Linked DNA regions of Homo sapiens: regions 2, 3, 4, 5, 6 and 7 are each linked to region 1. The links are contacts of gene promoters, found by promoter capture Hi-C in blood cells and fetal thymus (Javierre and others, 2016). All regions are on one chromosome and are shown on one strand. Each heading gives the region's core, a stretch centred on a gene start or on the middle of the fragment in contact. The rest is flanking DNA. Distances are from core to core; before and after follow the strand shown. Region 1 holds the start of BMP4 (bone morphogenetic protein 4). Region 2 overlaps LOC105370504 (a long non-coding RNA gene). Region 3 overlaps LOC105370504 (a long non-coding RNA gene). Region 4 has its middle 48 kb from the start of CDKN3. Region 5 has its middle 65 kb from the start of CDKN3. Region 6 has its middle 82 kb from the start of CDKN3. Region 7 overlaps LOC105370504 (a long non-coding RNA gene).

Region 1 (4,325 bases), core at 892-3,391:
GTCATTCAAAAACCTTTGGAATTAAAAAAACCCCGAAATGACATTGGTGCTTTAAAGTAAAATAAAGTCCTGCCTTTAAGTCCAGCATATCACTGTTGTTTCTGAGTTTAAATATTAAGAACCACATTTCGTTAATGATTAAAACAACAGTGATTGATTTAGGGGCTCAGTGAGCATTTAATCTGTCCTGACTTCAGGTACCATGCTAAAGGAGCACAATGCCTGATGCTGCAGGAGAAACATTAGGTAACTATTTAATGGAGTTTTAATTTTCTGTTATTATTTTTAATAATTAATTGTGATTTTGACTATTTGGAAGCTACAGGTATATTTTGTCCTCCTTTTGGGGTGGTGTTATTGCCCTGCCCTGTTTTAATCAGTGGTTCTTAGAGAAAGTGAACTCAGGAGTGACTTAAAATGAAGGAAGACGGACTTTGGCTAAAATTACAATTAAATAATCAAATCATTTTCAAATATAAAGGGAGCATGCAGATGATCTGGCCCAATCCTTTCATTCTGCAGATGAGAAAACTGAGACTCATAGGAATGAAAAGACTTGCCCAAAGCCATACAGCTTGTTTCTGTTGTTTGGTGCATTAGGCCAAAAGACCTAGGCCTAATAGATGGAAAAGATGGCAGGATGTCTTGGCCTTGCTCTGACAGTTGCTTCTCTGATCTCAGATATTTCCCACCCTTTGTAATCTGTGTTCCACACAGGAAGTAGTTCTTGTTTTTTAAATATCGAAGGTGTATAAACGTAAAGTTTTTATAGATGAGCCACCCAGGGCCAATATCTGTTTAAGTAAAGACCTAAATGCTTTGCAGAGACAGTAAAGTGTCATGTCTGTCCCAGGGAAAGAAATCCAGGACAGGAAATGCTCAGTCTTCCAGCACTCCTCTGGCTACCTGGAGCTCAGGCTATGAGCCTCAACCCCTCCCTGAAGCATTAGCTCTGGAGCAGAGGCTGTGATTTACTTCAGAGATCTGGGCAAGTCCCTTTAACCTGGTAGTCCTGCCTTTCCTTGTTTGTAAAACAGAGAGATGAGGCTGATAGCTCCCTCACAGCTCCATCAGAGGCAGTGTGTGAAATTAGTTCCTGTTTGGGAAGGTTTAAAAGCCACCACATTCCACCTCCCTGCTAATATGATTACTAAAATGTTTTTATATGAAAGGGCCAATTCCTCATCTCCCCTCTTCCTTTAAAAACAGACCAAGGGGCATCTTTTCTTGTCTCCCTGTGGCCTAAAAGGTTACTGCTTCTGTGGTTATCTCCTTGGAAAGACAGAGTGTCAGGACTCTTAGGTACACCAAAAATGAACAAAAAAATCAACAACAACCATAACACCAACAAAAATAACTGCTGTGTCGGTTCTTAAGACGGCTTCTGAGCTAGAAACAGATTTTTCTAACTGTAAAAAACGTGGCCCCAGCCTGTCTGCAGGCCACCTCTGTCTTTAGGCCTTGGGGGGAGGAGGGAAGTGAGCTCATTTACTGGGGTCTACCTCAGGGTCATCACCAAGGTGTTCTACAAAACGCACTTTAAGAATGTTTTGGAAGGAAATTCACCTTTTAACAGCCCAAGAGGTATCTCTCTCTGGCACACAGTTCTGCACACAGCCTGTTTCTCAACGTTTGGAAATCTTTTAACAGTTTATGGAAGGCCACCTTTTAAACCGATCCAACAGCTCCTTTCTCCATAACCTGATTTTAGAGGTGTTTCATTATCTCTAATTACTCAGGGTAAATGGTGATTACTCAGTGTTTTAATCATCAGTTTGGGCAGCAGTTACACTAAACTCAGGGAAGCCCAGACTCCCATGGGTATTTTTGGAAGGTACGGCGACTAGTCGGTGCATGCTTTCTAGTACCTCCGCACGTGGTCCCCAGGTGAGCCCCAGCCGCTTCCCAGAGCTGGAGGCAGCGGCGTCCCAGCTCCGACGGCAGCTGCGGACTCGGGCGCTGCCTGGGCTTCCGGGACCCGGGCCTGCTAGGCGAGGTCGGGCGGCTGGAGGGGAGGATGTGGGCGGGGCTCCCATCCCCAGAAAGGGAGGCGAGCGAGGGAGGAGGGAAGGAGGGAGGGGCCGCCGGGGAAGAGGAGGAGGAAGGAAAGAAAGAAAGCGAGGGAGGGAAAGAGGAGGAAGGAAGATGCGAGAAGGCAGAGGAGGAGGGAGGGAGGGAAGGAGCGCGGAGCCCGGCCCGGAAGCTAGGTGAGTGTGGCATCCGAGCTGAGGGACGCGAGCCTGAGACGCCGCTGCTGCTCCGGCTGAGTATCTAGCTTGTCTCCCCGATGGGATTCCCGTCCAAGCTATCTCGAGCCTGCAGCGCCACAGTCCCCGGCCCTCGCCCAGGTTCACTGCAACCGTTCAGAGGTCCCCAGGAGCTGCTGCTGGCGAGCCCGCTACTGCAGGGACCTATGGTGAGCAAGGCTACCTGGTGAGGGGAGACAGGCAGAGGGGGTCTAGGAGCCTCCTTGGGGGGAAGAAGCTGGTCACAGGCTGTGACCGAGGCAAAAGGTGGCCTAATTATTTTCCAATAGTGGTGCTGGAGGTGGGGATGCTGGCGCTGAAAGACCTTTAAATATCGGCTACTGCCCCTGCCCAGGCCTTCTCTGTCCAGCAGTCCCTGGGAGATTCTCACCTTTGGGAAGTGCGGGGCAGGAGAGCAGAAACAAGAGAAGCCCTTGGTAGGGGGGTCGTTGGGAAAAACTGTGGGGTCTTGGGCTGAACGCGTTGCCCACGGGCTGGAGGTTGCGATCCCCGGACGGAAAGCGCGGGAGGAGGAAGGAGAGAACCGGCTCTGAGGTCCAGAGAGAGTGAGGGGGCAGAGCGACGGCGAGATGGGGAGAGAACACCTAGCTGGAGCAGGTTCTGCGGTAGAGAGCGCAGTCCTGCTGGCCTCTGGAGAGTGCGCGCCGCTCCGGAGGCTGCGTCGAGGGGAGTGTCACCCAATCTGGCCCCCAGCTGGCGGGGCGCCCTGAGAGCTTGCGAACTGCAGTTGCAGGACGCGCCTTCTCCACGAGCTATTTTCGTCGACTTGCGGAACCCAAGGAACCTCGCCTCTATCATTTCACGGTGTAGGGTCCCTAGAGACGACAGCCAAGATCCCAGGGGCTCCCAGGACGCTTGTTCCTGCGGTGTCGTGTCCTATGGGGAGTTCCTGGCGGGACGAAAGGCGGACGCGCGGCTCTTCCTGGCCCTCCAGGCCCGGAACCGACGGGAAAGGTTCCCGTGATTCCCGAGTCCCTGCAGGCTTCTTCCAGCGGGAGTTGGTCCGGGGGCCTTAGAGGCCTCCAAGCACTGCTTTGGAGGATGGTTTCCAAGGATCGCGGTTTGTGAGTTGAAGGCTTTGTGAGAGGTTAAACCCCCAAAAGATACATACTTGGTAAACTGAGGCTACCTGTAAACACATTTCGGCATTAGGAGAAGATTCGAGTAGGGAAGTGAAGGACAACCACCCCGAGTTACATTCCTTTCCCCCAATAAAAAGCTCTGGGGATGAAAGTTCTTTTGGCTTTTATCTTTTCGATTTAAAAATTTGAGAAGAAAAATGTGACTAGAGATGAATCCTGGTGAATCCGAAATTGAAACACAACTCCCCCTTCCCCTTCCTATCCTCTCGGTTTTAGAACCGCGCTCTCCCGCCCCAGGAGATTCCTTGGGGCCGAGGGTTTTCCGGGGAACCCGGGCGCCCGCCCCTTCTACTGTCCCTTTGCCCCGCGGGCACAGCTTGCCTCCGTCTGCTTTCTCTACTTCTGGACCTCTCCTCGCCGGGCTTTTTAAAGGGCTTCTGCGTCTCAAAACAAAACAAAAAAACCCTTTGCTCTTCCCAACCCTTTCGCAGCCCGCCCCAGCGGTGGCGCGGGACCAGCAAAGGCGAAAGCCGCGCGGCTCTTGCCGGGCGCGGACGGTCGCGCAGGGGCGCCCGCGGCCTCCGCACCCGGACCTGAGGTGTTGGTCGACTCCGGGCATCCACGGTCGGGAGGGAGGGCTGAGCTGTTCGATCCTTTACTTTTCTTCCTCAAAGTCTACCTGCCAATGCCCCTAAGAAGAAAACCAAGTATGTGCGTGGAGAGTGGGGCGGCAGGCAACCCGAGTTCTTGAGCTCCGGAGCGACCCAAAGCAGCAACTGGGAACAGCCTCAGGAAAGGGAGGTCGGGTGGAGTGGGCTTTGGGGCAGGAGTCATGGGGCCCGGGCCCCGGGGACGACCTGGCGCTCCCGGCCCTGCTGAACGCTGAGTTGCGCCTAGTCGGGTTTTCGAAGAGGCCCTTGCGCAGAGCGACCCACGCGCGCGGCAGCATCTTCGATTAGTCAGGACATCCCAGTAA
Region 2 (4,325 bases), core at 1,013-3,512, 430 kb after region 1:
GAGATAGCATGCCTGGATTATTTCCCCAGGGCCTAGTACAGTGTTTGACACAAGGTTATGATGCAATCAATATTTTTTGAATGACTCAATTAATTATTGATAGTAGGCAGGAATGGAGAAAAGGACAAAGGGAGGTAAGGGTCACTAATCACATTTATGCAGGATTTTCTTCCAATCCTGTTAAGTATTATACTAGCAGAAGCCAATCTGGGATGCTTTACTAAACACAGCTATTATATCATGCTAAATGACAGACAGATAACTTATAAGTTATTTCAATCTAAAAGCAAGACACAAAAATGGCAGTACTTCTTGTCCTCATTGTAGGCAGTGAGTAGTTCTGAGGCTCTAGAATCATTCTCAAACATGTCAGCCTTTACCAGTTGAAGTTTTGGAAATTACTCAGGTAACACTAAAAAGTGACTTGATACAGAATCAGAGATTTTAGAACTGAAAAATGATGGTGTTAATTAGGATTGATGACCCTGACCATCTGATTACTGTTTGTAATTTCATCATTTGAGTTGTAATTCACTGCCTATTAGCTCATATCAATGTCTGGTTATAAAAGTGTTCATAATGTTTACAATGAGAGGCCTTGGTGATTACAGTCCCATAAATGTGTGAATAATTGAGAGGTTATGCTGCAGCACACGCCTCATCAAGCTTCCTTTTCAAGTCTCAAGTACATATTTAAAGCTCAACACTAGAATTCAATTATACTTGAATTGCCAGCAAGAAAAAAAAGAGCTAAATTAACAAAGCTGTCAAAAACACTCTCTGCTTTAAACTTACTGGGACAACTGGACAATGGAAATAGTTCACCCATTTAAGGGTTGATTTCATCTGGTAAAGATTTATTGAGTTTCTTTCTTGGTCCCCAAGAAGATAGATGGAAAGTCAATCCTGATAAAATAGTTTGCAAAATTGACTGGATTGCTAGATGTATATAGCAGATTTGGTAAAATCAGTATAGAGAGAAGTGAACAGTTTATGTATGACCCAACAAGATCATGTTACAGTGGTCTCAATAAATTAGAATGGACCCAGCAATAAAATAATTTGGTACAGTGCGCACTATTCAAAGAGTACAATTAAGTACCTACCATCTCTGCTTTGACTCCACAAGGTAAGGGTCTGTAGTTTGGAAATGAAACTAACCCAACGCGTGTGAAAGAGTTCTATTCTTCTCCACTAATAAAAATACATTTCACGTAATACTCTTTTAAAGGATAATTCAAGTTTCTGGGATAACTCCAAACTGTTCTTAAATGAAAATGTCTTATAAAAAAAGTGTGATGAGATTTCAAAAATAATTACCACCAAAATTCAGACTTGATTAAAACTCTAAGTTGTATTTATTTTTAATATGACATATTTTGTAAGCTGTACAATGGGCCAAGCGAAGATAATCTTGGACTACTCCTTTTATGCTAGGTTTTTTTTAACTTAACCCTTTTTTTCTTTTGAGACAGAGTCTCACTCTGTCGCCCAGGCTGGAGTACAGTGGTATGGTCTTGGCTCACTCCAACCTCCACCTACTGGATTCAAGGGATCCTCCTGCCTCAGCCCCCGGAGTAGCCAGGACTACAGGAGCATGCCACCACACACAGCTAATTTTTGTATTTTTGTAGAGATGGGGTTTCTCCATGTTGGCAAGGCTGGTCTCAAACTCCTGGGGTCAAGTGACCTGCCTGCCTCAGCCTCCCAAAGTGCTGGGATTACAGGTGTGAGCCACTGCACCTGGCCAATTTAAATCATATTTGAAACACCATCCACAGACACACTTGATAAATACCTTATTCTGAATCCCATAGTTATGTAAAATAATCCTTACCACTCAAAATAGAATAGACTTCTTTTGCCCTGGAATCACCCACTTATGTGGTTCCCATTTTAAAACATCTAGAGGCCAGAAAGGGGGTTGGGGGGCTGAAAAGAAAAAAACAAAAGAATATAAATGTATTTTTACTACTGAATTGTACACTTAAAAATGGTAAAGATGGTAAATTTTATATGTACATTTTACCTCTATAATAAAGAAATAAAAATTTTTTAAAAATTTAACACATTCCTTGATTTACCTGAAGTTGTTCTCAGCACCTTACCTTAGATGTTAGAATCTTAGTGCTGTAAAGAAGCATAATGTCAAACTCATCCCATTCTCTCATTACAAAGAGAAGGGAACAAAGGCTTGGAGAGTTTAGTGACTCATCCAAGGCACATAGAGCCATGCAGTGGCAAAGCATGTACGGCCGTCCAGCTCTCTGATCTTTGCTCTGATTTTTTTCTGTGACATCATTTATTAACACCAGATGCCCTTCAGAAGCCACCACCATTTTTTTTCCCTCCCGTGTATAGTCTACTGAAGAAAAATAGTAATTCAATTTAAAAAGCATTTCTGTGTACCTACATGCATGGCACTCTACAAGGTAAGGTGGGCAGGCCCAAAGCCAACTAAGACTAGGCTCCTCTCTGCAGGGGAAGACAGACATGCTCCCGGATGACCATCATCCATAGTCGCTAACCTCCCGTAAGAGCTGACACAGACATGACCCATGCTAGGAAGGCACAGGAGTTAATGGAGTCATTACAGATTAGAAGACCTAAGAATGCTTTGAGAAGTAGGTGACAGGGTGGATGAGGAAGATTTTGGCAGGTGGCATGGTATTCATTCTGGGAAATTAGTTTATTCTGCCAGACTTGTTCAATTTTAATTCATTAAAAAATGGAATCTAAAAATATAGTAGACCATATCCAGTTGATGGATGGTGGCTTGGAATGTTACTACTGACTTAACAGGTAAGCTGGCAGACCACTAAATGTACATTTATCTACATAGCTTTGTCCAAGTTATTTGTATAAATAAATCTGTCCCCAATACAATACTTTAATTTTATAATGGGGCATTAAGGGCAGACATTTTATCCATTTTATGGATTTTTAACATGAGAATCAAAGAGATTGAAGACTTATCCACAGAAACATGGCTGGCAAGTGGCAGAACTAAAGTTAAAGCCCGTTTCTCCTCTGCCTTTTCCCTGCATTTACATACCACCATGTTGTCTTTACAATTTTACTGCTTTTAAATCCTTTTTTATGTGCATTGAATAAGGTCACGAACTTTCAGAATACCACTACAAAACCAATTTTGATAAATCAGATATAGCTGTTACACACAGTGGACTCACCCACAACCCACCATCACAACTGTGATCAGCAACCTAATGTGATCGGGCAGTATCCTCTAGACATGGCCCATCAGACATGACATACATACTCGCCTTCTTTCCTAAGAAAACTGGAAACACCTGGATCATGTTAGGTCACTTCTTGGTTTCTACAGCTGGATTTTATGCTTCTCCCCTCTTAAGGAGTTGACAATCTGGAAAAAATCTTGATATTCAGCCAAGAAAACAAGAGCCTTTTGAACACAGACATTTCTATATGTTCTGGCAAAGGAGTGGGGAGAGTGAGATGGAAATTATTCCTTATGGTGTATAAATAAAAATGTGGGCAGTAAGAAAGATCGGTCATGACCTTCCAGTAAGGATATGTGAAGCAAGAAAAACCAGCCCATTTTCCTTCTAAACAATCCTCTTCAGCATAACAAGTGGCTGCATTACGCAAGGGCCTTGGTCAGTAGTGCCCAGTGAACAGTAACTTCCAGCCTCCTGTGTTTCAACTGAACCATCTGCTGTGTGGGTCCACACAGCTGGGCTCTGCTCAGTGGTTCCTCCACCCTCTCTCAAAGAGACACTTGAGAATCTCCTCTCTCCAGGCAGAGGGCAGGGGATCAGGGGTGGGGTGGCCCTGCTTACTCTTGTAGCATACTGTTTCTCTGGTTGAAAAAGCTTCTGATGTAAAATTAGTCATCAATTTAGCTATTTTTTTCCACGAGCCTCAACTCTGGCTTTCTCAATATAACGTGTAGATGTAAAATATCCAAACCATGGGGAGAACTGCATTTTCCAGGACATAAATATTAAAGCCAGCAACATTCAGAGCAAATTTGGCATTAACCAAATATCACATCCCTACCCAGGCTATAAGCTGAAAAGTCACCATATTGAAAACAAGAAGAGGGAGTTTCCTACCCAAGGGAACACAAACTACTCCAAAACTGAGTGTGAAATAAGGACGCGTTGGCCTTTTGCTTATGGCAAGAACAGGCTAAGGTGTATGTGTGTGTGGAGTGGGAAATGCTGCTTTGCATTTACTAATTGTGAAACACATGCATCAGCCAGCAGAGACAAAGCCCAGGTGTGAGGGCAAATTCTACCTGCTGCTGACTGATTTCATTGATCAAATTGGTTATCTACATA
Region 3 (4,325 bases), core at 1,085-3,584, 410 kb after region 1:
TGTATCCTTGAAGTATTTAGTGTGTTGTTTTGTGCAGTACCTGTTTCTAATTTACATAAGTAATATTGCACTAAGCTCTCCTTCTGTTACTTTTTCCCTCAATAGTCTTAGTAAGATCTAGCCATGCTTCTTTATATGAATCCAGTTTATTACTTTAAGCTACTGCCTCTGATTATGTAGCAGAATGCATCACAATATTTTTCTTATCTATTACTTCCAGTGATGGACATCTAGCCATCACCAGTCCCAGCTACCAGAAGTCACATTGCACTGAACATTTTCATATATAAATTCATTAGTCAATGGAAGAATTTCTCTTGGGTCTAATTCTGAGAGTTAGACTAGTGGGTCATGGGGAAGACCCAGGAATACTTATTTTACTACATATTCACATACTTATTTTTCAATACATATTCACATTTTGTTCTCTAGAATGTCTGAACTAGCCCCTCCTGCCCACCTTGCAGTCCAGGAGAATTCTCACATCCTCACTAGTACTTGGTATTATGTGACTTTTTAATTGTTGCCAAGCGGGGTTCCCTCCTCTTTAATTGACTTAGCAATTAAAATTATTATTCTTATGTTCTGTTTTTCTATTTTGTGAAGTTATATGCAATGACCAAATGCAGGAAAATCTCGTTTGCAGTTTGAATAGGTACTGAGGAATAATTCAGTGTTCTGATTAGTAGAAAGCTATCTGTATGGCATACCCAGGTTATCATTTTTGAAGAAGCAGAAAACAAACCAGCTTTCATTATAAAAACTCCTATGACTATAGTTTATGAGAATTCAGAAATCACTTCTGTGTTAAGTGTGACCTACAAACAAACAAGAAAACTGGCACTCATTGAATTTTCCCTGTGGATATACCAGTTAAGAAATCACTTTGCTTTATAACATGGGACTATTTTGGATAAGGTAGCCAATATATTTATTATTTCCATGCTCTTTCCTTGAAATTGCTCTCCCCACAAAGCCTCTGCTGAAGGAGTGATCCTAGGTTCATGTTAGGACCACATGATTCTGCCCTCTGGTCACAGCTTGCAGGATGAGGGAAGTTCATTGATCTAACATTGAACTCATCTATAACCTGAAATGGACCAGTAACAGACTTAGTGACTTTGAATTAAATAAAATGAATCACTTGGTCATGATAAGCACCTGAGCCATCAGGTCATGGAAAGCCTGGCCTAGAGGCAGCCCAGGGCAAGACAGAGCTGAAGTCATAAGAAAACAGAAACTAAGAAGCTGCAGAGGATCTTAGCCTGCAGAGAGGAGACAAGAGCAAATGTGCAGAGAGAAGCAGAGATTACAACCACTCCAACAACTGTGAGTACGTCAATCAGCCAAGCAGGAGCCCTACTGGGAAGAATCCTTACCAAAATCCTTCATCTGATTTCACTCCCATTTTACAGGAAATAAACCTGATGAGACATTCTATCCCAAAGACAAGCCTCATCTACCCCAGGCAAGGGGACGGATTTTCAGGCCTGTTTTCTCTAGCTCCCCAGAGCGTTCTTCAACAAAGCACCATCCACCATTGTGAAGGGAAAATAGAACACCTGAGCCGTCACCACTCCATACCTGTTAGAAGTAAACTTTGATAAATTATCCTCAAGGAGATGGGTAAGGAACTGGAGGGAGAAAAGACAGATGTGGCATTTATCAGGGAATCAACTCATGCATCCAATACACAAATATATCCCCAAACTGTTGGAATGTCAAAGCTAGAAGCTACCTAAATATAATAACTCAGATTATGATTTCACAACATTTTTAAACATCCACCGAGTGTTCTCCTTTGAGTATGCTGAAGATGCTCTAAAAATTATTTTTTAATAGAACAAATTGACTTGATAGAAGTCATCATGTGAGAGAGATGTGGGAGGAAACCATAAAACAAGAAGCTATGATTGTGAGAAATCACTTTCTCACCAGCCAGGAAGCAACTTCTGGGTTGCCAGAGAAAACCCACCCTGGCAATGCCCAGACCACAGATGAACCAGTAACTCTCCATTTGCCATCATGAGTTAGATGCTACCAGACCATTGGCTCTGTAAATAAATGAGCTAAGTACAGTGAACATCCATGTTTTTCTTTACCCCCAAACTCCTTTTCAGGTAGCAGAGTGTAGTGGTTAAGGGAATGGGCGGGCAGTGGGACTGTGAATGTTTCCATTCTAGCTCTATCTTCCCAGCTATGTGAATTTTAGCAAATTACTTAGCCTCTGTATACTTCAGTGTACTCATGTATAAAATAAACATAATAATAGTGCTTCCCTTAAAGGGTTTCTGAGGGTATTGCCTTTTGAATAGTGTCTGGGAAATAAGTGTTTAATTGTCAGCTATTATTGTAATTATTATTTTGGGAACAGCACTAAGATTCTCTTTCAGAGAATCACCATCTCTCCCAGTCTCAGTCCAATTGACTGAGGTGAATCTGACCTCCCGCCTTGGCTCCTCAGACATTGCCAAAGTAGATTCTGTGAGAGTCAAAGTTAGGAGTTTCTATTTGAACTACTGGGAAAGAGCCACTTTTATTTTCTCTGGGGTTTGCTGAGCTAATGACTGTAAGCCTGGAGACACTTGGCAAATTGAGAGAACCTGCCTGAGGATACTGTTAACTCAGAAAAAAAAAAATCAGTCAAACAATGGCAAGACACCAAATCATTATGACATTATTCAAGCCCCTGGATCTAGCTGTGCCCGAAGCCAGTACCCTTAGAATTTCTAGTTGTGTATGCCAAAACATTATCTTCTTTGCTTAACTAATATAAATTGAAGTCATACTACTTATAATTGAAGAAGTCCCAAGGATTACAGTAAATTATGGCCAAGAAATATTTAGGAACTACATAATTTATTTATTTAATTCATCGAAAATTTGTGAGTACCCACTTTGCTAGACACTGTAATGGATACTGTGACACAGCTTTGAACAAAATCATATCTGCATTCTAGTTGGGGAAGACAGACAATAAATAAATAAAAATTATTAAATGGAATGACGTGAAGTTATCATTTTTGGAGGTCAAATACAGTTGAATATTGGCAATTTCACACGATTCAGCCTAAGACCTATAGGCCATTCATACAACAGTTACTCTTTACCATAAGAGTTTAGATGCCCTGAAGGGGAAACACTTTTCTGGCTTCTAAGCAAAAATCACAAGGGGCTGCTGATTTAACATCTTCACCCCAGAGGTCATCACCGCTCTTGCCAATCATTTCTTCTGTCATTAATTCATCCTGATTAATATTGCAAGTTCTGTTCCATCATGGCAAAGGGATACAACCACCACCTTAGAAATCATCTTCTTATTAGGTCCCTCATACCTATAAAAGCTCATTGCTTACCAATATTGTTGCTGTATTTTCCTTCACATGTTTTTAGTAACAATCTGGCTCCCCACCTCCTTTTCCTAATCTTCACTCCTTACTTGATCCCAAGGGTTCCCCTTTATAAGTGATATCACCTGGTATTTTCCTTGTCTGCTGCTGGTCTGAGTTTCTGATTCCTGCTTGGTTGCTCATTTCATGCCTCCCTAACCTAGAACATCTGGCAGGCCCCCATCTGTAGTTTAGGGGAAGGTTACATCTTGGCTGGCTAGAGGGAATTCAGCAGGCCTGAATCTGGTAGAATGACTATTCATATTGAAAGCAACAGTAACATGGGGTGGAGCAGGGAGCCAAGGTGGTAGCTGGGGGAAGTGGACTCTGAGACACAGAGTAGCATGCAAGAGATTATTAAGGAGTACTATTGAGAGTAAACAACTGCAGAAGAGAAGAGGAGGGAAGGAAGCAAGATTGAGTAGAAGGAGAAGTTGAGCTGCAATGCAGTCCCAATGGAAGCCTTAGAACCCTACAGGGAGTTCTGAAGATGAGTTAATGCTTAAGATTTGTCCTGAATTGTGGTAAGAGAAATGAGGCCTTTATATTCCAGCATCAATCATCAGATGGGGGTCATTCTGGGAAGAGATACAATAGCTTAAGAGGACTCACAACTGAGGGTGCCTGCTTAAGACACTCTCAGCATCCAGGATGATAAGTCCTTTACTCCTGAAGGGAGACCTGAGCAGTACAGCACAGCATCCACCACAGTGGGCATGCAAGAGAAAGGAGTTCCAACAGCCACCAAGGTACAGAGTAACGCTAGAAGCAATTAGCAAAAGCCACAGCATGGTACAGCATGGGACCTGCTTCACTTCTTTGTTAATATATTATGAACGATATTCATGTTATTTAGAGTGTGTTTTATCATCTTAATTTTAATTGCAGTATTTTCCCACTTATTGTCAAGCCCTTTAGCCCCTAAGTGCCGTCCTT
Region 4 (4,325 bases), core at 1,139-3,638, 390 kb before region 1:
AGCCTGGACGACAGAGCGAGACCCTGTCTCCAAAAAAAAAAAAAAAAAAAAAAGATGTATTGGTCAATTTGTTAATAGCATATCATTATAAATGTGTTATTGCTAGAAATTAGCAGCCAAAATATAACACGATAGAGTGTTCCTTGTAGCTTCCTTGCTCATCTTACATTGCCCATTGTAACATTTTTAGGATTGTTAACCATATCATTTCTTCATGTTTCACAGTACTGCACTTATAATTAGTGTCTATCAGTGTCTGTTATCATACTGTCCTCTTGGCTTTCAACCAGTTAATTATTTGTTGGATTGCTTTTCAGAGTACTGGCTGCCTTCCCTATGACGTGCTGCCTCCCTTCCCGCTGATCATCTTACTCTTCTGTTCTTTGCTATTTTCAGACACTATTTTGCACTCATTATGCACAAGTTCAAACTTTAGTCATGTGAAGAGAGCTGAGTGCCTTGTCTAATTTTTCAGCACCAAACCAAATAAACAAAAAACGCATAAAGTCCATTTAAAAATATCCACACTGCATCAGGGAACAGAGAAGCTTTTTCTCTCTCATGTGAAATCTTCTCCAGGAAACCACCAGGACTGAGGCCCCCATGGCGCACACATGCTTGCTTTAGGTGCTTACGTTAAGATGGTATTTCATTAGTTTTGGATGGTCCCTTCCACAGAGCTCAGATGCTATGCTTCTTTCTATTTTAAAAGGGGGGACGAAAAGATTGGCTTTTCATCCAAAATACTCATGTTCTTCTAGCATATTAAAATTCATTTGTGACTAAGTCATTATAGTGAAGTACTTGGAAACCTTTCTATTCTAGAGAGTTCTGGGCACAAACACATTTACAGTGTGCACTAATGCCAGGCTCATGTCCTCACGTCCTCCAAGGGACAGGGATGAGCTGGGTCATAAACCAAACAGTGGGACTCTGGCAATCCCTTTTAGCTCAGGCAGATGCAAAATTGAAGACCCAAAAGAAGCCTTCCAAAGGTCACAGCAGGTTGCTCTCAGGAAAAGAGAATCAGTAATTTATTTTTAAGCAATCTCTTAGCCTCTGTGACAGTTATGTTTCCTTGTAAGCTGCTTTGGAGCCACTCACCACTCTGAAATTGCAGAGTAGGCTACGAACAATCCGGCTTCGTAAGAACATGCAAGTGAGGACCCACGAGGAGATATTCTTGTGCTTTTTAAAGTGCTTCTCTCACTTTGCTTCCTAAACTGCCTTAATTGAGGCAAGGGAGCCAACATGAGTGAGTTCCTTCCCGCGGCTTGCTCTGCCGTGGAGTTCAAGGATGCCTGAGCCCTCAAAACACGGCGCGGTGCAGTTGGGCTGATGGGAAGTCCTGAACAGCTTGCTGAATTATTACTTCATTCTCGGCTGAAGCAGCAGGAGGCGAGATGATGAGTGAAGGAAAAAACCCATGGACTCCAGCGTGGGCTGAAGGAACCAAAACAAACACTGAGAAGACAGGCCAATACTGAAATCTGTTTCAAGGATGGAGCGCGCAGGAATGTTTCACCATATTTTGTCTAAGGAACAGATTTCATTTTTTAATGGCTGTATTAATCAGTGGAAGCAGAACGGCAGGAAGGAATCCGTTTTCCCCTCTCCCCAACGCCTCCCGTGGCTCGCCCGGACATTCCCCCCATTCTTTGTACTGAAGGTGGCCTGGAAGTTTTAGAGGCGTGAGACAGGTTCTGAACTCGCATGCCCTTTCTTTCTCCTTCCCGAATAAATTTTGCGTAAGAATATTTGGGACAAGGAATCCACCATGGCGGGGTGCAATAAAAGCGTTTCACAAATTATGATTTCCCATTCTCTAGGCAGTTCAGCTCTGCCTAACAGCTCTAATTTCCTAGACAAATAGTCCTCCCTGTCCTCTCCAGCTGCTCACAGGCGCCTCTCTCTGGGTATTCTTTTTAAAATCCCTCTCCTGGGGAATTTTTAAAAAAGCTTCTCGCACTTTTTCATGCGATTTTCATGGTTCCATCCATCTCCCCACTTTTTTGGTCAAAGCCTTCCTCCCAAATATCAATTGCTTTTTCAACCCGTCCATACTACTGCTCAGCTGTTGGTTGAGCTTCTCCTAGCCTCCTGCTGCTGTCACTGGGCCAATGGAAGCCAGTCCCTTGCCTCTTTGTTCTATTATTTTATGGCAAGATAATAAACTTCTACATTTTTGAAGTACTTTTCACCGACTTGATATCAAGTATTTTGATAATCACAAAGTGATCAAACACATGTTCTCTTTTTCCAGTTACATAATGAGATCAAATATTGATTAGCAGTGAGTAGATAGATGTATATTGTACACACACACATACACCCGACCATCCTCCTTTTGGCCTATGGAGACTGTTACTCCAAAGAGCCGACACATTTGTGTTGACATTTCAGTCATCCAAGAAAGCTGCCAATGTCACTTCCTTTGAATATTTTCCTTCAGTTTTCAGGAAAGAGTTGGTGGGACTAGCTTATCATGGATGGCATGAGCTGAGGGGATGGTAATTTTTCACAAAAGTAGACATTGTTCGAGGCTAATAGTAAGCTGTAATCTAGACTCATAACTGTAGAGGGCGCTCTTGACTTAATAATGACAGCATTGCCATTGTCACTCCAGGAAGCTGGGAGGTGACAGAGTATCCTTTTATTACCAAGTATTTTATGGGGAAAGAGAGAAGGTGCCTTTTGGAATAGACAAGAAATCCATATTGTTTCATATTACCTTTTATAACATGTCTTCTTAAGAATAAGCTCATCATCTAATTCGTAGCCCCTGGTTACAGTTTTGTTGAAAGTGCAGAAGCTTCCAACTAATGAGAATGAATCTCATCAATGTCTCATACCTTGTGTTGGTCCTGCCACTTGGTAATGGGTGCTTTGCGTGCTGGGAGCTGGGAGCGATCTTCCAAAAATGGCAAGTGGGGTGGGCACTCCTTTGCGGAAAAGCCTTCTGTGGGTTTCAATTTCATTTAGCATGAACTCCCCACTTCTTACTGTGCCCTACCAAGGCCTTCTAGGATATAGCTTCTTCCTACACTTCAAGCTCTCTTTCTCTCTTCCTTCCCAGGGGCCGAATCTGGGACAGCACATGGACCTTGCCAAGCGGGGCACACTCTGTGGCATCTGCATTTGCTCTTCCATCTGCACAGTGAGCTCTTCCGTGCATCTTCCAAAGGCTGGCTCCTTCCCATTTCTCAGTCCTCTGGTCATAGAAACCCCTTGGAGGGAACTTTTTTGACTACCTCATCTAAAATAGGCCCGGCCCCAGCCAGCTTTTCTTTTTTAATTAAAAATTTAATTGTGATATAATTCACATAAGATTTCACAAAACACCACATTCACCATTTAAAAGTGTACGATTCAATGGTTTTCGGTATATTCACAATATTATACGGCCATCACCACTATCTAACTTCAGAACATTTCCATTGTCCCCAAAAGAAACCTCATACCATGAAGAAGTCACGGCCCACCTCGCATTCCTCCCAGCCTCTGGCATCCACTCATCTACCGTCTTGTCTGTATGGAATTGCCTGTGCTGGGTATGACACACCCACTTCTTTTTAAATGTTAAAGCACCCTGTTTGTTTCCTTCCTGGCATGGATGTATTTGCTCATTTACTTGTTTACCATTTATTCTCACAATCTATGAATAAGTCGCAGAGTTTCTTCACAATTCAGTCTGCCCAGCCTTAAAGTGAGCCCAGCCTTTCACCATAGGATCCAATCTATGTGGTGGTGCAACCACTTCTGGGGCTACTGTGGAAGAGACTCGTCTGTGGTAGCATGCCCTCCAAGAGTTCTTGAGGGCTCTATATCTTTTGAAGGATTTTCTGCTTTTCACTTGCAACCCACAGAGTCATAACTGATTTAATCACCTTCTTCAGAGTACTGCGTGCATTTGTAGAAGACTCTTTAAGGCCTGGGCTTCTTGCTGCAGCAATAAATACCAGTAACCTTTACAGAGCATGGGCCGTATGTCAGGCACAGGGATATGTGCTTCACTTGTATTTTTTCCACTTGGTTTTATTACAGTCCTGTGAAATAGGTATAATTATTGCATCCCATTTTAAAGATGAGAGAATTGAGGTTAAGGGAATTGGCACATTTTACTCAGCTAGTTTGTGGCAGAGTGGAGACTGGAGTCCCAGCAGTTAGACCTCCAGGGCTCATGCTCTTAACTATTCTGCTCTTTCTTCAGCCTCTCAGACTTCAGTCAAGTGTTAGCACGAAGTGACGGTGTGATGTTTGCATGCGGCATATGAATATTATTGCTCCTGGTAAGATTGTTTACGATGACATCATAGACAAAGAAA
Region 5 (4,325 bases), core at 776-3,275, 380 kb before region 1:
ACTAATCCATGGGGATCTATGCAACATGGCAAACAATACACTTTCCAAGACGTGTTTGAATTATGAATCCAGTGGTGGGCGGTCTCTAAGTTTTGTGCAGAATAGCTTTGGTGTGAGTTGATGGAGCATTTTGTACCTGGGATTCAGAACTTTTATGAAGGCCAATACCCTGAAACTCATTCAAGCAATAAATTCACTTGTCTTTGAGTTTACAAGGCAATAAACAGTGAAGGCCTTTGACCTTAACATTTACTGAATACATTTGCAGCAGTTGTGTTTATTGACAACTATTTATAGGGAAGCATTGGGCACTGAATTTCCTAAGGGCCGGGGGATGGGGGGAGGTTAGGGTAACCAATTTTGCAGGTCTTTTTTAAAAAATAAAAATTCTTAATTTAATTTTCAGCTACTTGACAAATTTTTAGTTTTAGAGTTAGGGTTTGATTCTGTGTATAAATCATGCTTTGAGTATTTCTTTCATTGTGATAAAAGCTTGATTAGGTTAGGTATTTTTAAAGAAAACTCATAGGGAGAGGCTAACATTGGAATAAATGCTTGCCCATTAAATTCAACTCTACACTTTGAAAGTAGGACAGGTGAGAACGGTAAAAGGATTTAAAGTTATTATTATTTTTTTTCCCATGGATTCATTCTATGTCGTGAAGTAAATCACTTTTTTTCCATACGAACATACAGTTGTAAGGACTGATAATACGATGTCTCCGAAAGATGATGGAAGAATTTATTTATCCCAAGCACATTGTGCATTTTGAGTTTCATGGATTAAGCACGTAAAAGTAAAATAGGGATCTTTATTATTGAAATAATTGCTGTCATGGAACAGGCAGCCTGCTGCTCTTTGCTCTTCCTGAAAGTTGGGAGGGATCACCATTGCTCCACATTGCAGATGGGAACCTAGGCCATCTAGGTTTTGTTTTGGTCGGAGGGTGGGTCCGTGGTGATGACTGAATTAGGAAAGATGTAACAGGGCATGAAGCAACAGTAACGGGAAGGGCCACTTTTACTCAAGGAGATGCTTCCAAGTCAAGTTTTACTATAGACTCAAACCGCAGTTACTTCCCACCACGAGGGAACCCCTTCTGGTGACTCTATTTGAACATGCTTGAAATAGAAATTCCGTGCTGGTTTCGGTGGAGCTCAAGCTTTGGAGGACAAGATGTGCTGATCATTATCTTAACATCTGATGATGGTGGGAGTACCTGGAGGAGTAGTTAACAGAATCCATCCTTCTGGATTCCACGGTAACATTGACACCACACTCTCAGTAGAGGAATTCTGCAAAAACTGCATTTGGCAGCCTTGCAGTTAGCTTAAAATACTTCAGCTCACAAAATTCTTTACAAGCTTTCTTAGCACAGAAGGAGTAAACTGCAAATGAAGTATGTGTTCTTTTTGTCTAATAAGTGCTGTCACTTTTTATTAGATATTATGTATCTGTGGACCAACTCTATTGAGTCCTGGTCTATATTTTTGCTTATTGACTTGCATCTGGGCTTGCTTACATGTCTGTTTCAACAGGTTGTTAATATAAAGGCTGTTGCATTTGCTTGTTGAGGGGATGGCATCTGATTTGGTTGGTTTAGCTAGGTAAATCTGGTGTTACGGTGTTAGTGGCTAAGGTTCTAGTTAGCCCTGCCTAGAAACAAAAACATGTTTCAATTGCATCAAAATTGAAATTTGTGAAAGAAATGACCATATTTATTTCACAAAATATGGTCATTATTCTGGGGGAATGAAGGGATGGTGTGGGTGACTCTGGAAAATTCATTGATTAAACCCAGCAAAGCCCAGGGTAGATACTGCTGTTGGAAATCAGTTGGTGAGATAACTGACAATAGCTGGAATCATGCATCTTATAGAATTAAGAGTTTTGCATTATTCTTTTCATAATGATCAGACGCTTGTCAAGTGTTTCCCCATAGTCATATTCAGCATGACATTTCAATATGGTCTTCTCACATTGAAATTAATTTCATCTTAATTTAGCCGTTTGCTGGTGTGCTTCTGGCCTGTAATTGAAGACAACACTCCACACAAAGTTATGGGGTTGTGTGGTGATATTAGTTGGGCAAAGCAAGTGGCTGCTTTCTAAGGTTATCCTGTGTAATGCCTTTTTCCAGTTCAAGAGCATATCTTGTTTTAAACAACTTTTTGAAAGGCAGCCAAAGAAAAGGTTGGCTCTGATATGCCCTTACCCGTCCTGTTTATGGGATACAGTGTTCCATTTCTTGGAAGAAGATGATAAAGTGAAGTTGGATTTCGGAGGTGCACGGGAATATGTGTTCGTGTGTTTAAATTCTATGTGTAAGAGGAAAGCCCAAAGGAAAAGAATAAAATAGAAAAACATTACAATAGGAAGATGGATTACTATGTTATACTTAGTTACAGGTACCAAAGTAGGAGTGAAGTTCTAATCTTTTTTAGTGAAAAGAGTACATTAGGAACACCTAATGGTGATGAATTGGCATTACTTTGGATGGATTGAAGTTGGGGCAAGAACATGAGAAATGGCATGGATTTGGAGGAATTTTATTTTCTTTCCTGTTCACTCTTATCAAACATAAAGGCAAACAAAATTTTCTTGAAGGCCAGAATTGTTTTTGTGATTCAGCTGATCTCACATGTTAACTTTGGGACACTCACCTAGAAAAACGGGAAGCTTAACTCCCTGACAAAACTAGGAATTCCCTGAAATAACTAGAAACTTCCCAGAAAGTGGTACACTCAGCCTTGTGTGGAAAACAAACAAACAAACAAAAAATTCCACAGGCTGCGGAAACCTATTTGTTAAACAGCGAAGGGAAGTGCCGTTGGCCAGACAGTCTAAACACAGGAATGTCAGGCAGGAGATCAGATCTACAATCGGAAGGGGAGAAGAGGCTGATAAGGCCTCCAAGAAAGCAGGTCAGTCACCAAAAGTGGTTTCAGAGGTAAAGTGAGGAGGGCCAGGATGTTTGTGATACAATCACATTGTGCTGCTAAATTCTGGCACACACTGCAGGAGCTGATGAGCTGATGCTAAGAGGCACTATTTAAATAATGCAGTTTGTGCAAATGTGGAACCCCCCCAAATTGTGCTTACATATGACATGAAATACGTTACATTTAATGTGAAACAATCTTACTGGGAAGTAGTCTTCCTCCTTCTCAACAGGGCATCTTCTGTAGTCAGTGCCATTGAGCAACATGTTAGTTGTATAACTAGGGTTAGAGATGATGTGTGTGTGTGTGTTTTTTGTTTTTTGTTTTTTTTTTTTTTGAGACAGGGTCTCACTCTGTGACCCAGGCTGGAGTGCAATGGTGTGATCATGGCTCACTGCAGCCTTGACCTCCTGGGCTCAAGTAATCCTCCCACCTCAGCCTCCCAAGTAGCTGGGAGCACAGGCACCACCACATCTGACTAATTTTTAAAATTTTCTGTAGAGACAGGGTTTTACCATGTTCTCGAACTCCTGGGCTCAAAAGATCCACCCACCTTGGCCTTCCAAAGTGCTGGGATTACAGGCGTGAGCCACTGCACTAGGCCGACAATCTGTGTTTTGAACTCTGGATCTGCGAGGCTCATTTCCATATATTAACAGGGAGATCATTTTTGTGCAATGAGGATTTTATATGGCGTTACTTACTTTTCCTCCAAATGTAGACTTACTTCAATTAGGCTCAAGACAAGACACTTTCATGCTTCTCTTTCTATTTTTGGTTTCTTGGAAGTATAACCTTTCTGGAGAAGATGGCAACTTTGAACATTTTCTGTGCATTTGTGAGTTTCTAAGATTTCAATTTATGGTACCAATTCCTACCCTGAAACACTGGAACTTGTGGTCATAATGATAAGCAGTGAAAACAGAGTTTAAAAATGTACCCCAGGTAACCGTGAGAGTGAGCCTCGCTGGGGATGCTGTGCAGGTAACGGTGAGAGTGAGCCTCCTTGGGGATGCTGTGCAGGTAACCGTGTGAGTGAGCCTCCTTGGGGATGCTGTGCAGGTAACTGTGTGAGTGAGCCTCGTTGGGAATACTATGCAGCTGAACATTTTTGAACTCTTGCTTCATCACTTCTGATTCTGCCCTTGGAGGACAGAGATATGCAAAAGCACATGCTGGGGATTCAAAGGAAGCTAAACTGTATTCCAAGGTGTTCTGAAGCTTGTTTTCAGCCAGTGTAAGCGTGGTGTTCTTGACAGGGGGGTAGTGTTCAGGTGTCCGCATGTGGAAGGCGAACATTGCTGCTAAGTGAGAATTGTCAGTAAGTGGAAATCAGAAGCGGAATACCCTTAGCCTTCCTTCTTGTTCAACATTAATCTCAG
Region 6 (4,325 bases), core at 560-3,059, 360 kb before region 1:
TAACAGCACTCCCTTGACCCTGTATCTTTGAGGTTTTCAGGGCCTCAGAATTCTCTAATGTATTGTTTCATGGTTTAATCTGCTTTGTATTTCTCTGAGTTTAGCAATGCTGGGAGAGTGGGGAACAGGACTCTAGGAACTTAAACAAAGGACAGCAAAACGAGGAATGCTTGGTGACATTAAATTTTTAAAATATTTTTTGTTCTCGTATCCCATCATGAAAAAAATCATCCCACTCTTGAAAAAAATTTATACAGAAAGGCTTGTCAAATAAATTAGTGTGTGTATGTGTGTATTATATATATATTTGTCACTGTTTTAGGATGGATTTTGTGTATCACATTAGAATAATAGAGAAAATATAATACTAGTAAAGCGCAGTGGGGACTTACGGGCAGTGCTTTTCCTCCTTCTTCCTTCTGTTGCAGAATTTTTGCTCCTTAGTTCAGCTAAAACTGGGTTTTGTCATACAACCAGGAAACATTAGGAATGCGGACACATTGAAAGGGTGAGTAGCGCGGAATTTATTGGGAAAAAAAAAAAACTCTCAGCAAAGTGAGAGGGGGTCCTGCTAACAGGCCCCCACCTCAGATGGATTCCAGGTCACCACGCATGAGCCGAAGAGGCCAGGCCCCTCGCCCTTGCACAAGGTGTGACTTCCCGTGGCTCCACCTTGTTCTCCCGGTGCGCAAGTGGATCGGAGATTCTCTGGGGACCCTCCCCCTTATCTGCCTCCTGCATCTATCACTTCTTTCAGGATTTCTAAAGTAAATCTGTAAGATAAAATTCAGGGATGGTAAAAAAGTTTTTGATGCTTTAACAATTTGGAAATGAGTTACATATTCATGGTAACTTTTAAATTCAATTCATTGTGTTAATCAAGCACCTACTAAATGCCAAGAAAAAAAGTAAGTACACAACTCAATTCTCATTCTGAAGCGGCTTACAGTCTTGTCAGAGCTGCTTAGAATCCAGGCAGAGTGGAGCCTGGACACAAAACCTGGGCACAAAATGACAGGAGATGCACAGGGACATGCCGAGATGGCATGATGCATGTGTGTAAATGCAAAAGTGACCCAGTGATGCTGAGAGGGAAGGAATGACAGAAGTGAAGGCAGACAGGGACCACGAGGCCTCCGGGGAGGTTTTCTTCCCCTTACAAAAAGGTCTCAGGAGAGCAGTTGTTCACTGCTAGGCTTGGCACGTATGGAGACCAAAGATAGAAGCAAATGGTGTGAACTGCATTTCCTTCCTCCCTGATGGAGGGTGGCATCAGCTGGAAAGATGTTCACGCTTTGCTCCAGGAAACGACAGACCTCACTGATTTTCAGTGAACACATCATCAGGCCACCAGAAACTGTGACCAGATCCCAGGCTTCCAGGCCTCCACGGCTCCAGGAGACCATAAGCTCTGGGGGGACAGCAACTCAGTGTTTTTGTTTATTCTCCCTGGACTCCCAGAGCGGGGCTTTGCTCGTGGCCTGTGGCTGATTTCGGCTGGTTGAATTGCATTCGTTCTGATGGTACATTTTAAATGTGAGGTCCTGGGATCCTTCCATCTTTCAGTTTAAATGTCATCACTCAGGGAGATCTCTCTGGATTGCCCTACCTAAAGTGATCACAACCTCCCTTATTCTTCAGCACAGCGTCTTGTTCATTTTGTTCATGGTGCTTTTCACATACTGTTTATTTTGCTTACTAATTCTGATGAAGAGAGCAGCCCTCTATAATAAGACAGTATTATATGTCAGTAGTTTTGGGAAAAGTTAAAGTTTCAATAGGTTTTTAGCTCTCCTTGCAAATAGCCTTCTGGAAGTTTACTTGTGTACGACCATGGGTCTGCTTCCCTTCCTTTACTGAGTATCACAAGGTCTCCTCTTTTGCACCTGAGTGTCTGGACCCCAAAGCCTTTCTCTAAGTGGTGCTCAGGGCTCTTTGGAGTAATTTCGAGGCAGCCAGCCTCTGGGGTGTGGTGGTCCCAGTCTCTGGGCGGTGAGTACTCTTGTCTGTCTCTGCAGTGCCCTTCTCATTAGTGACAAGACTGTATTTCACATTCTCAGTGTATGGTCTCTTTTTTTCCACTTCAAGATATTTGGTATTTAATATCTGTCTCTGTTGCTGGATTAGACACCCCATGAGGGCAAGGACCATGTCTGCCTTGCTCTTTATTATATTCCTAGGGTGTAGCATAGTGTCTACCCCATACCAGGTTCTCAGTCAATATCGATCATTGCTTCTTCCCATTCCTACCAGCCACATTTTGCCTCCTCCATCTTCCAACACCTGTGTAGCCTGCCCGAACTTCCCGAATTTGAAGGGTAAAGAGGGAGTAGAGGTAGAGCAGCTTCTTCTCGTTCTTCTCCTAATTGCTAACAAGCTCTCTTTTGCGGGGTTTGGGGAAACAGTGGAGGAATACAAAAAGTTCCAAGAGAGTCTTTTCCTTCCTCCCCACCCCCGAGCACGCAATCCAACCATTGCATTTAGTCTAGTGGCTATTCTTGAAATCAGCCTCTGCTCCTCTGGAAGTCTCTCGCCCGGCTCCCTATGTGGGCTGTTCTTGTTCTTGGATGCTTGGATTGCCCTTTATCTACTCGCCATCTGTGTAAGGGGATCCTGCCAAGATGATCAGATGTGAACTCAGTGCCAGAAACATTTTAATTAATTTATGGTGATAAAATGCGAAAAGAAAACCATTGAGGAAAGCCTGGGCCAAAGAAAATTAAACATAAGAGGAAACAGAGAAACTGGGGCCGTGTGGTCTTAGAAGGGAGGGCCTGGTTGGCAAGGAAGCCAGCAAACTCTTTCTTTCTCTTGCCCTCTTCACTTGTTTAAGCAACACGCAAGTGGAAAAGCTGCAGAGGACCTTGTGGCAGGGACTGGAGGGGACAAGGGAGATCACTGAATAGCCTGCTATTGGCCTGGACTTCTTGATTAGGGCACTTGAACATGGGTGTGCAGGAAACATTGAGAGCAAGGCTGCAGGGTTGCAAGCCTCCCTGTAACAGGGGCAGCCAGTGTTTCTCAGGTGAGCAGAAGCGGGAAGGTTCTTAAGCTGCAGCTCTGAAAAAGCATCAGCACGTGTTTAAAGAAGTCACTAGAGTAAGTTTGATTTCATTGCAGTCTGGCGTACAGTTCTTAGGGTAACATCTATACTGAGAAAATACAGAAGAAAACTAGTATTAGCTAGCTTTGCCCCTCCTAAGACAAAAACAGGCCAGCAATGTTTATTTGTAGGCTACTGGGTCACTTGACTTATTTGAGATGTCGATTCAATTTAGGTTTCCTTTCTTTTTTTTTTTTTTTATAGGAAATAACTACTCAGGGTTGAAAAAGACAAACTTTTCAGTTAGTCCTTCCCATTGAATTTTAGAAGAAGACAAAAGAAAACACTTGGGAACCAGCACACAAGAATTCAGTCAAAATAAGACATTATTTAATTCAATAATTTAGTTTCTAATGTATTTGCATATTACATGTCCCTATAGATTTGATGTCTCAATCTAACTGGTGCAATTAAAAAAATAGACTCTTAAAAGCAACTGGGAGAAGAATACAGCAGTCAAAGAGAACAAAAGGGGACACATTAGCTGAAGAAAAAGAAAGAAATGAGAGAAACTTCTCAGTGATTTGAAAAAATCTATAGCACACATTACCTATTTGTCCTAATTAAGAGGGAACTATGTAAAATTGAATAAATAAATTTATGTTGAGCTCAGCAGTAGATTATTTATACAGCTGATTTAATAGGATAATAGAATTTTAGAGCTGTGACTTCATACTGTGGGTCTGAATCAGAACTGCCTAGATAGGTTTCTTCTTTTTTTAAAAAAATGTATAGGATTGTGTCGTACTTGCCAGGATTTATGGGGCTGGCCTTGGGATGTGCATTTTGAAAAAGCTAGCAGGTGAGTCTGACGTGCATTCCTATGCATCCGTTCATCACTTATGCAGTGCCTACCAGGGGCCATAATACTATGGTGGGTGCTGGAGACACTATGGTCAGGGAAAAAAGACATGGTCCTTTCATTATGCATGTATGGTTTGTGGGTAATATGCACCTTTTTATTTCCAGCTAAAGACCTGATTACCCTGAAAGTTGAGTGGCCCTTCTCTGGATCATCCAGTTAGGTGGTGGTAAACTGGAATGGAACAATACCCTAATTTCCCACTTCTTATTTCCATATTCTTTCCACTAACTAGTCTTGCTGATTTTCAGATTACATTTTGTTTAGGCTTATATTGAGATTCCAATTGTACTGGAAAAAACAGCTGGGTTTAGATTTAGGTTCAATTCCTTGCTCTACTATGTATAAGCTTTATGATAT
Region 7 (4,325 bases), core at 662-3,161, 290 kb after region 1:
CTGGATTACAGATAGAGCCCTCTCATTCTTAAGGCGACGTGTCTTCATGTTTTTTTTTTTCATCTCTCACAATCACCATCACACTCGTGGTCACCATCTGCTTTTCCTGTGACCTCCATGACATTTTCTTTGCTGATCAGTCATTCTGGTCTCCCCTTCACTTGCTCCACTCAGCCTCTTCCCGCTGTCTTTCTTCATGGAATGTATCAAAGTCAGATGACCCATTGTTTGAAATCTGCCACATTTTGCAACATAGCATTCTAAATGATGTGAGTGAGAAATATGTAAAAGTTTTGGATAATATAAAAAGTGGGAAAACAATTAGTTTGGCCTAGACAGACCTATGCAGATTTCCAGAGGAGCTAGGACTTCAACATGAACAAGAACACAACAAAGAAAGGAGGAAAAGGAATTTCATGCAGAAGGGATGAAAAAAGGCATGAAAATATGAAAATTCAGAAAAGAATATTCAGTATTAGTGATGTGTTTGTTACATGTGCAGTGAAGAATAATTGAAGATGAGACTGGGAAGGGGAATTGGGACCAAATCACAAGCAGCTAAATAGAGCAGTCTACAGGGGTCACATTTATCCTGTTGGCAAGGGGGTCTGTTAGAAATGGGAGGCACATGATAGAGCTGCACTTTTAAGATGAAGATGACTGGGCATGGTGGCTCACACCTGTCACCCTAGCACCTTGGGAGGCAAAGACAGGAGGATCAATTGGGCCCAAGAGTTCGAGATCAGCCTGGGCAATATAGAGAGACCCTGTCTCTAAAAACAAAACAAAACAAATACAAAAAAAGAAAAAAGAAAAGAAAGGATGGTGGTGTTAGCCCTGTGGGGGCAAAGTAGAAAAGAGTGTAGAGATAGGGAAATTTCTCAAGAGGTAGTTGAGAGATCCAAGCTAACAAGAAGGAGGTCTTCGACCATGGGTGGTGAGAAAAAATGGTGAAGCCTGAATCAAGAGATGCTTCAGAGGAGAGGAGAGTTACAAGATGAGATAATTAATTGAAACTGTGGAAATAGGTAGAAGAAGGAGTCAAAGATGATTCTGAGTCAACATTTTAAATTTCTTCACTCTCTGGATAGGTAGATAGACAAATAGAAGATAGACAGATAAATGGATAGATAGATAGATAGATATTAGATAGATAATAGAGATTAGATAGATAGGTAAATAGATAAATAGACATATGCTAGATAGATAGATCTATCTTTATTCTACTCTCACCAGCACCCTTTTAAAAATCTAGACATCTGCATATAATATAATAATGAAGTACTCAGCACTTGCACACTACGGTAGAAGAGCTTCAAGGAACTCATCATTTTCTCAGAAAAGCTGGGCATGTGGAATAGGTTACAGGGAGATTAGGGAATTTCCTCCCCTGGGGGGCTTTTACAATAAGTTAGATACCTGTTTGTCCATGATGGCTTAGGTGTTGTCCTTTCTGAAGCCTGGGAAGTGTCCTATTTCAATTCTTATTATCTCTTCCAGGCCTATAATTCTATGCTTCTACATCATTTTATGGCTTAACCTTAAAGTGTATCATTCATTTGATAAAATAAATCATGAGATAAAACTTGGAATTTTCTATGGACACTGATACAGAATGTAGTCTGAAAATTCTTAAAATTAACTAATTAACCTACTGAATAAATTATAAATAATGTTATGGGTTAGGGTTTCTCAAATCGTGTTTGATGGAACTACTCCTGCAATATTCTTACTCCAGAAAGTGGAAAATGATTGAAATTCACAGTAGACATTAGCATATAAAAGCCCTAAGATGTCCTATAGAAAGAAGCTTCTTCAATTTTTACCTAAATCTTCTCAAAACTTTTAGAAGAACGAGATATATGTACCTATAACTATACACATATATGGCTATCCATCTATAGCTATCTGTGCATGCACCCATCCATCCATTAGCTATTTATCTGCTTTTTAACCTCCTGTGAAAACAGGGTTTCACAAAACACACTTTGGTAAATATCATCTAAGCTTGCCCAAGGATGATCTTTGGTTAATCTGATAATTATTTTTAAATTACAGTTTGCTTCGCCACAAAATGGAGATAATAACACCTACCTCATATAGCTGTTACAAGGATGAAATAAAATAAAATGTGTAAAGCACCTGGCATAGGGCCTGGTACCTTGTTAGTGCTCCAGAAATGTTAGCTTTCTACCCTCTGCTCCTCCATTAAGGTTTGATATCTAATACATCTCACAAATACATTAGTTTAAGTGCAGAAATGCTTAAGCAATTAAAACTTTTGGCTTCTTGTAAGGAATGAGCATACTATTCTGTGGTTAATTATAATGCAGAAGGTCAAGTGGTTATCCTTCAGTAATCACAGCTATATGAAAATCTATGTGTGTGTGCACAAGGGCCATTAAAGGAGAATAAGAATTCACCTATTTTTAATAAGTGGTGGGATCATGGGTAGTTTGTTTCATCTTTAAAAATTAGTAGATTTTGTTTATCACAGAAGTTTTAGTAGCAATTAATTCATAGCAATTCATAGCAATCAATTCATAGCAAAATTGATCAAAAAGTATAAAGAGTTTCTATGTAACCCCTCCCACCACACATGCAGACTTCCACACCATCAACATCCCCCAGCAGAGTGGTATATTTGTTACCAGCAATCAACCAAAAATGACACTTCATTATCAACCAAAGTCCATAGTTTACATTAGAGTTTACTCTCGGTGGTGTACACTTTATGGATTTTGACAAATGTATGAAGACATGTATTCACCCTTCTAGTATCATACTGAGCAACTTTACTGCTCTAAAAATCCCCTGTGCTCTACCTAATCTTTCTTTCCACCCCCAATCCTGACAAACACTGATCCCTTTATCATCTGTCCACAGTTTTGCCTCTTTCAGAATACCATATACTTGAAATCATACAGTACGTAGCCTTTTTAGATGGACTTGTTTCACTTAGTAGTATGCCCTTAAGTGATCTCTGTGTTTTTAAAAGCTGTTTTACTATTAGAGAATATCACCTTTTAAATGTAAGAAAATGAAGTAAATTGAAAATAAACAAATAAATAGAAGAAGCCAACCAAAGAAAAATAAAGAATGGATGTCCTGAGGCAAGGGCCTCTGTCCTGGAAGTGGCTGGCCGTGCCTGCTTCCCATTTCCCCAGCTGCCGAGTTCCACCTCCAGACTGACAATTGCAAGCTGTCCTACTCCTCTTGTTCCCTGCTTGCCTGCTGTCACAGGGCTCCTGCTTTTCTCTCCCAGGAGCTCCACTTTTAGGGCCCCCTTGTGGATCTAAGGACAGAGCAGGCAGCAATCAGTGAATGCAGAAAAACCAAACAAAAACATGGAAATCATTTCCATGTATTTAGCACTTACTATGTGCCAGGTGCTGTACTAAGCATTCTACATATATTATTTCATTTAATCTTCACGTTGATGCTGTGAGATGGATAACTGTATCCCCATTTTAGAGATGCACAAATGGAGGATGTGAGAGGTTTAATGACTTTCCAAATGGTACACAGGTAAGAATTAGCAGAACCAAGATTCAAATCCAGGATGGCCTGTGTCTAAATCCTGTGTACTTAACAATGCTTTGTGCTTAGAACGGTTACCCGAATACCATAGATAAGTGATTCCCAAATGTTAATCCTGCCCTTAAAAATTTTTGCTTATGTGAATCACCCCGATCACTTTCTGTTGAGCAGCCTCATCCCAATATTCCAGGTATGAGAAGTCACTAAGGGAGAGACAGAAGTCCCCTTTTACCCTCTCCCTGAATTTCTCACTGTCTGTGTTCCTGATCTACACCCCCATCTCAGGGTTTTCAGGCCCTGGAGGAAAAAAGTGGAGGAAGTTTGTGTGCCCCACACAGTTCTTAGAACAAAACCTGAATATTTAATATAAAATGACATTGAATTGGCTTCCAAGTTTTATGTGAAATTTGACTTTTGATTTAAACACCAACAAAAAAGAGGTAAGACAACATCGTGATAAGAAAACAAAGTTGTGCACCAAGACAGACATCAAGCTCTACCACAAGGTTCATTGACAAACATAGAGCCTAGAACACAATTTCACACATATGTAACAGAGAACAAAATTTTATGTTGTAATTTTCTGAATTAGAATTTTTAAAGTAGGCCTTTTAAAATATCAGTTCTTTCAAGGTATAATTTACATATACTAAAATTCACAAATTTTAATTTAAACTTTCAGAATATTGATAACCAGTCATGTAACCACCACTGCAATCAAGATGTAGAATATTTCTTTCACACTAAAAAGTTCTGTCTGCTTTTGCCCCTTTGCAATTAATACC

What was found. The method cuts DNA at HindIII sites, captures the fragments that hold promoters and counts their contacts. A CHiCAGO score of 5 or more calls a contact.
Region 2: a fragment that was not itself captured here is called in contact with the fragment with the promoter of BMP4 in region 1 in 1 of 17 cell types (endothelial precursors); the score reaches 6.0 in endothelial precursors.
Region 3: a contact is called between a fragment that was not itself captured here and the fragment with the promoter of BMP4 in region 1, in 1 of 17 cell types (endothelial precursors). The highest score is 13.7, in endothelial precursors.
Region 4: a fragment that was not itself captured here is called in contact with the fragment with the promoter of BMP4 in region 1 in 1 of 17 cell types (endothelial precursors); the score reaches 5.6 in endothelial precursors.
Region 5: a contact is called between a fragment that was not itself captured here and the fragment with the promoter of BMP4 in region 1, in 1 of 17 cell types (endothelial precursors). The highest score is 15.4, in endothelial precursors.
Region 6: a fragment that was not itself captured here is called in contact with the fragment with the promoter of BMP4 in region 1 in 1 of 17 cell types (endothelial precursors); the score reaches 6.0 in endothelial precursors.
Region 7: a contact is called between a fragment that was not itself captured here and the fragment with the promoter of BMP4 in region 1, in 1 of 17 cell types (endothelial precursors). The highest score is 5.4, in endothelial precursors.

The regions. Positions count from the first base shown.
Region 1 is chr14:53,954,641-53,958,965 of GRCh38, reverse strand. It overlaps BMP4 (bone morphogenetic protein 4), which reads left to right and starts at 2,141. Exons shown (of 4, transcript NM_001202.6): 1 at 2,141-2,416. LOC124903317 reads right to left here. Exons shown (of 2, transcript XM_047432035.1): 1 at 2,638-4,325. The coding sequence starts at 3,065. RefSeq lists silencers at 2,179-2,258, 2,908-3,017 and promoters at 973-2,315, 197-2,315, 4,218-4,325, 3,243-4,325. The HindIII fragment of the contact is 12,206 bases long and covers 1-4,325 here.
Region 2 is chr14:53,527,651-53,531,975 of GRCh38, reverse strand. The region is part of intron 2 of LOC105370504 (a long non-coding RNA gene); the gene reads right to left. Among named protein-coding and RNA genes, the nearest start is that of LINC02331, 320 kb to the left of the region's middle. The HindIII fragment of the contact is 3,188 bases long and covers 669-3,856 here.
Region 3 is chr14:53,544,706-53,549,030 of GRCh38, reverse strand. All of the region lies in intron 2 of LOC105370504 (a long non-coding RNA gene), which reads right to left. Among named protein-coding and RNA genes, the nearest start is that of LINC02331, 300 kb to the left of the region's middle. The HindIII fragment of the contact is 7,693 bases long and covers 1-4,325 here.
Region 4 is chr14:54,346,451-54,350,775 of GRCh38, reverse strand. No RefSeq gene overlaps it. Among named protein-coding and RNA genes, the nearest start is that of CDKN3, 48 kb to the left of the region's middle. The HindIII fragment of the contact is 853 bases long and covers 1,962-2,814 here.
Region 5 is chr14:54,329,562-54,333,886 of GRCh38, reverse strand. No RefSeq gene overlaps it. Among named protein-coding and RNA genes, the nearest start is that of CDKN3, 65 kb to the left of the region's middle. The HindIII fragment of the contact is 1,315 bases long and covers 1,368-2,682 here.
Region 6 is chr14:54,313,177-54,317,501 of GRCh38, reverse strand. No RefSeq gene overlaps it. Among named protein-coding and RNA genes, the nearest start is that of CDKN3, 82 kb to the left of the region's middle. The HindIII fragment of the contact is 5,014 bases long and covers 1-4,316 here.
Region 7 is chr14:53,662,833-53,667,157 of GRCh38, reverse strand. The region is part of intron 2 of LOC105370504 (a long non-coding RNA gene); the gene reads right to left. Among named protein-coding and RNA genes, the nearest start is that of LINC02331, 190 kb to the left of the region's middle. The HindIII fragment of the contact is 197 bases long and covers 1,813-2,009 here.